Regions from separate parts of the Homo sapiens genome. Here region 1 is linked to region 2. Evidence: promoter capture Hi-C in human tissues and cell types (Jung and others, 2019). All regions are on one chromosome and are shown on one strand. Each heading gives the region's core, a stretch centred on a gene start or on the middle of the fragment in contact. The rest is flanking DNA. Distances are from core to core; before and after follow the strand shown. Region 1 overlaps FAM13A (family with sequence similarity 13 member A). Region 2 holds the start of HERC6 (HECT and RLD domain containing E3 ubiquitin protein ligase family member 6).

Region 1 (3,224 bases), core at 107-2,606, 640 kb after region 2:
TGCGATGACTGCGTTAACCGCACAAATTGTTTAAACAATATGAAATCTGGGCACATTGAAAAAAGAACAGGATAACAGCAATGTTCAGGGAACAAGGGAGATAACCATTAAGTCTGGCTGCCTGAGAGCTGGGCAGAACAGAGCCATATTTGTCTTCTTTCGAAAGCAATAGGAGAAATATCGCTGAATTCTTTTTCTCAGCAAGGAACAGCCCTGAGAAAGAGAATGCGTTCCTAGGGGGTGGTCTCTAAAATGGCCGCTCTGGGAATATCTGTCTTTTACGGTTGAAGATAAGGGATGAAATAAGCCCTGGTCTCCTGTAGCGCTCCCAGGCCTATTAGGACGAGGAAATTTTGGTCAGACTGGTTGTCTGCTCTCAAACCCTGTCTCCTGATAAGATGTTACCAACGACAATGTGTGCCTGAAACTTCATTAGCAATTTTAATTTCGCCCCGGTCCTGTGATCTTACCCTGCCTCCATTTGCCTTGTAATATTTTATTACCTGGTGAAGCACGTGATCTCTGTGACCCACACCCTATTTGTACACTCCCTCCCCCTTTTGAAAATCACTAATAAAAATTTGCTGGTTTTGCGGCTTGCGGGGGCATCACGGAACCTGCTGACATGTGATGTCTCCCCCGGACACCCAGCTTTAAAATTTCTCTCTTTGTACTCTTTCCCTTTATTTCTCAGACTGGCTGACACTTAGGAAAAATAGAAAAGGACTCATGTTGAATTATCGGGGGCGGGTTACCCCGATACTTAACTTTTGTTTGTATTAATCTGCCTGTGATAAAATTTATTTCCTGATACATCATTTTACTTAAAGTTGCAGTTTCCAAGAAATTATCAACAACATTAAGTGAAAACTTACTATACTATACATTTTATTATTTTAGAGTGTACCCATTCTATTTATACATATATGTATAAAGTGCATTTTAGAGTGTACTCATTCTATTTATATGTATGAAGTTTATATATATATAAAGTTAACTGTAACACAGACTCAGATACACATATACATATATACGTGTATGTTAACTGCAACACAGACTCAGATATACATATACATATATATGTGTATGTTAACTATAACAGACTTAGATACACATATACATATACATACATATATACGTGTATGTTAATTATAACACAGACTCATACACATATACATACATACATATACACATGTGTATGTTAACTGTAACACAGACTCAGGCAGGTACTACGGGAAGTATTCCATAAGAAGGCATTGCTATTGTAGGAGATGGCAGTTCCACAAGTGTTACTGTTCCTGAAGACTTTCCATTGGAACAAGATATGGAGGTGGAAGGTAGTAATATTGATGATTCTGACTCTGTAGGCCTAGACTCACATCTGTGCTTATGCCTTAGTTTAAAAAAAAAAAAACACAATTTTACAAAGTAAAAAAAGAAAAAAGAAAATTTTAAAAATAGAAAAATATTAAAATTATATGATGAAAACAATTTGTAGAGCTATGCAAGGTATTTGTATTTTAAGCTAAGTGTTATTTTAAAAGAATCAAAATGTTTTTAAAAGTTAAAAAGTTATAAAGTAAAAAAGTTACAGTAAGCTAAGGTCTATTACTGAAGACAAAACAAATTTTTAAATAAATTTAGTTTAGCTTAAGTGTACAAGATTTATAAAGCCTACAGTGGTGCAGTAATCTCCTAGGCCTTCATATTCACTCACCACTCACTCACTGACTCACCCAGAGCAACTTCTAGTCCTGCAAGCTCCATTCATGGTAAATGCCCTATACAGGTGTACCATTTAAACAATCTTTTATACTATATTTTTACGTACCTTTTCTGTTTTCTTTTTTATTGTTATTTCTTTTGAGACAGGGTTTCACTCTGTCACTCAGGCTGGAGTGCAGTGGTATGATTATGGCTCACTGCAGCCTTGACTTTCTAGGCTCAAGTGATCCTCCCTCCTCAGCCTCCTGAGTAGCTGGGACTACAGGTGCATGCCTCCACGCCCTGCTAATTTCTTAATTTTCTGTAGAGATGCGGTTTTGCCATGTCACCCAGGCTGATCTCAAACTCCTGGGCTCCAGCAATCTGCCCACCTCAGCTCCCAAAAGTGCTGGGTTACAGGCATAAGCCACAGGCCAGGCCTACTGTACCTTTTCAATTTTTAGATATGTTGAGATACACAAGTGTTTTCTACTGCATTACAACTGCCTACAGTATTCAGTACAGTAACATGCTGTATAGGTTTGTTGCCTAAAAGCAACAGGCTATGCCATATAGCCTACGTGTGTAGTAGGCTATACAATCTAGGCTTGTGTAAGTATACTGTATGATGTTCACACAACAATGAAATCACCTAATAATGTATTTTTCAGAAAGTATTTATGTCATTGATGCTTAACTGTAATTTTTTTTTACTGAATGACTCAAATCTAACCAGAGATTTTAAGGGAATGGAAGAATAATACCAACATAGCAAAAATTTAACCTCTCTTCCCATTCAAAATTTGTTACCTGTGCATAACCTCACATAACCTAAAGGCTGACTATACAATGAGTCTTGCTTTTAGAATGATACTGCTTGCTTTTATGACACCTATCAACTTTCTGATGACTGAGGAATCACGTCATAAAGAATATGGCGACTCACAAAGACCTAAATGATTACAAAATAATTCTATAAATAGTAATAAAAATAATAAAACAGTACATACTCATATCAAATGAAAACTATTCTGGAAATGTGATAAAAGCCTTTGAAATTTATAGGATTTTTGAGTACTAAGAATACTTAATAATACAGAATACTATAGAATAATATTAAGAATACTAAAGATATCTGACTACCAAATATTTTGCATTAAGCATAAAATATTCGTCAACTCCTGTAGACATTATTTTACAATAATTTTCCAAACTTTATCTCAAAACTTCCCTTCCCTATGGATAAAATATTCCTTGTAAAAAGGATTTAATGTTTCCAAATAGGAGGAATTGTCACCTTTATGAAGGAATGGTTATCTTCATACATATCGTGAAAAAGTTCATAAAGTTTCCAATTAGCAAGCCTCGAACATGTCACTCACTGACATACAAAGCTTAAAAGCACCGTTGACAACCAGAACAAACTGTTCTGCAAATTTGCTTTCATATTTTATCACTATTTTCAATAAAATATAATATTTAATAATTCAATGATTTTATGCCTTTTCAAAAAATAAAAT
Region 2 (2,858 bases), core at 175-2,674:
TTTTCTGACTACACCCAAGCTTCTCTCTACAACTCCAAAACAGTTTATCCTATTGCCTTCTTGATTAACAAGCATCTTACAGTTATCATTACCAATCTGTATTCCAGACACACATAGCTTAAACCTGCACCTTCCTCAGGGTTTCCCAGTCCAGTAGAGTTTACCTTGGAGTAACCCCTAAAGCCAACCCTGGAGTAATCCCTAATCCCTTTTCTTCTTTCCCCCCAATTTCTAATCCATCATCAAATCTGTGGACTCTTACTTTCAAAACATGTCTTGAATCTAATAACTTCTCCTCTCTTCCCTTCTAGGATATCACCTGACCTGAACTCTGAAGTAGTCTCTGCTAACTGGCTTTCTGCTTCCATTTTTGTCCTATTATTTTTCACACAGCAGCCAGATGAATCTTTAAAAACTGAAGTCAGATCATGGCTCTTCTCTATTCAAAACCTTCCAACTGCTTCTTTTCATCCTCTGCCCTCAGGTGTGATCACGACTCATTCCCTCATTTCCCATGTCCCCTCAGCTCTCTGCACAAATATCACTTCATCAGAGAGATCTTCCCTAATATCATCTCAAATACCAGTGCCTTCCGCCTCCACCCTCTGGTTCCTGTTGTATTTTTCGTTGCCCCTTGATATTACACTATGTGTTTATCTGTTTATGTTCTCTTTCCCTCAGGAGAATGTAAACGCATCAAGAGGATCTTGTCTTTCACTAATTGTATTTTCAGGCGGGGCCCAGAGGCTCACGCCTGTAATCCCTGCACTTTGGAAAGCTGAGGGGTGGATCACTTGAGGTCAGGAGTTCGAGACCAGCCTGGCCAACATGGTGAAACCCCATCTTTACTAAAAATACAAAAATTAAGTCGGGCGTCGTGGCGCATGCCTGTAATCCCACCTACTCGGGAGGCCGAGGCAAGAGAATCAGCTTGAACCCGTGAGGTGGAGGTTGCAGTGAGCCGAGATGGTGCCACTGCACTCCAGCCTGAGCAGCAGAGCGACACTCCATCTCAAACAAACAAACAAACAAACAAACAAAAAACAAACATATTTTCAATGCCAAAAAAGGTCTGGAATGAGGTGGGCACTCAGATGCTTTATTAACCACTCTAGGTATTATTCTAACACTTTATGTGCCTATTAAATTATCCCGACATATTAGATTTGCTGAATTGCAGTCCATATTTCGTAGATATGATAGCTGAAGCACGGAATCATTAGGTAACTTGCCCAAAGTGGCATTCACGACTCATAAATGGCTTAGGATGTAAACTCAGTTTTATTCCCTGGGACGCCCTCTCTGCTCTTCAGCACTTGAAGTTCAGGCAGCGAGAGTTGACATGGGGCCAGGGCTGCGCCCCTGGGGCGGGTTGAAGACAGGGTGAGTCTCTTGATATTCAGGAAATCATCGCGCACCCAGTCACCAGCGTTCGGGAGCCTGTCGCAGCGGGACCGACGGAATCCGGAGCAGGCGACAGGGCGCAGAAGCGGGATGTACTTCTGTTGGGGCGCCGACTCCAGGGAGCTGCAGCGCCGGAGGACGGCGGGCAGCCCCGGGGCTGAGCTACTGCAGGCGGCCAGCGGGGAGCGCCACTCTCTGCTGCTGCTGACCAACCACAGGGTCCTCTCGTGCGGAGACAACAGCAGGGGTCAGCTGGGCCGCAGGGGCGCGCAGCGCGGGGAGCTGCCAGGTGAGCGGGGGGCCCCAGGTGCAGGGTGTGAGGACCCCAGTACATGGGCGCGGGGGCTTGGGTACCGGGCGCAGGGAACCGGGTGCGGAGCGCTGGGACCCGGGTGAGGGGCGCGGGGGCCCAGGTGCAGGGAGCGGCTCAGATGCTGGGCGCCGCGGGCCAGGCAGGGAGGGGTGCTGGGAGCCTTGGATTCCTCGGGGCCCGAAGAGCCACAGGAACCAGGAAAATGGTGCCCTGTGCTACCGAAGAGCAACTTCCTCAGTTTCGTTTTCCCAACGCCCCTCGGATTTGTTTCGGTTTCCAATTCAAGTTCAAAGCGAAACTGAGAGCCGAAACTAACCTGGTCAGCGCTGCTCTGGAAAGAGATGTGGTCCCTCCGGCTTGCCTTGCAGATAAATCCTCGCCTGCGCGGTTCTACCTGGAGAAGGCAGCCTGACCTTACAAACGTGGTTTGTGGGTCAGACACCTGTATCTCCCTTAGAAATACACTGGGGCATTAAAAAATATATATATATAAAAATATATATATAAAATATATAAATATATATAATATATAAATATATACAAATATATAATATATAAATATATAATATATAAATATATATAATATATAAATATATAAATATATAACATATAAATATATATAATATATAAATATATATATAACATATAAATATATATAATATATAAATATATATATAACATATAAATATATATAATATATAAATATATATATAGCATATAAATATATATAATATATAAATATATATATAATATATAAATATATATAATATATAAATATATATAATATATAAATATATATATAATATATAAATATATATAATATATAAATATATATAATATATAAATATATATATAATATATAAATATATATAATATATAAATATATATAATATATAAATATATATATAATATATAAATATATATAATATATAAATATATATAATATATAAATATATATATAATATATAAATATATATAATATATAAATATATATAATATATAAATATATATAATATATAAATATATATATAATATATAAATATATATATAATATAAATATATATATAATATATAAATATATAATATATAAATATATATAATATATAAATATATAATATATAAATATATATAATATATAAAT

Evidence for each region. The method cuts DNA at HindIII sites, captures the fragments that hold promoters and counts their contacts. A contact is called where the count stands out against the background at its distance.
Region 1: a contact is called between a fragment that was not itself captured here and the fragment with the promoter of HERC6 in region 2, in 1 of the 25 tissues and cell types used here (mesenchymal stem cells).

The regions. Positions count from the first base shown.
Region 1 is chr4:89,014,788-89,018,011 of GRCh38, forward strand. All of the region lies in intron 3 of FAM13A (family with sequence similarity 13 member A), which reads right to left. Among named protein-coding and RNA genes, the nearest start is that of FAM13A, 41 kb to the right of the region's middle. The HindIII fragment of the contact is 6,922 bases long and covers 1-3,224 here.
Region 2 is chr4:88,377,428-88,380,285 of GRCh38, forward strand. HERC6 (HECT and RLD domain containing E3 ubiquitin protein ligase family member 6) reads left to right here and starts at 1,425. Exons shown (of 23, transcript NM_017912.4): 1 at 1,425-1,693. The coding sequence starts at 1,495. RefSeq lists a silencer at 1,648-1,837 and an enhancer at 1,848-2,177. The HindIII fragment of the contact is 12,273 bases long and covers 1-2,858 here.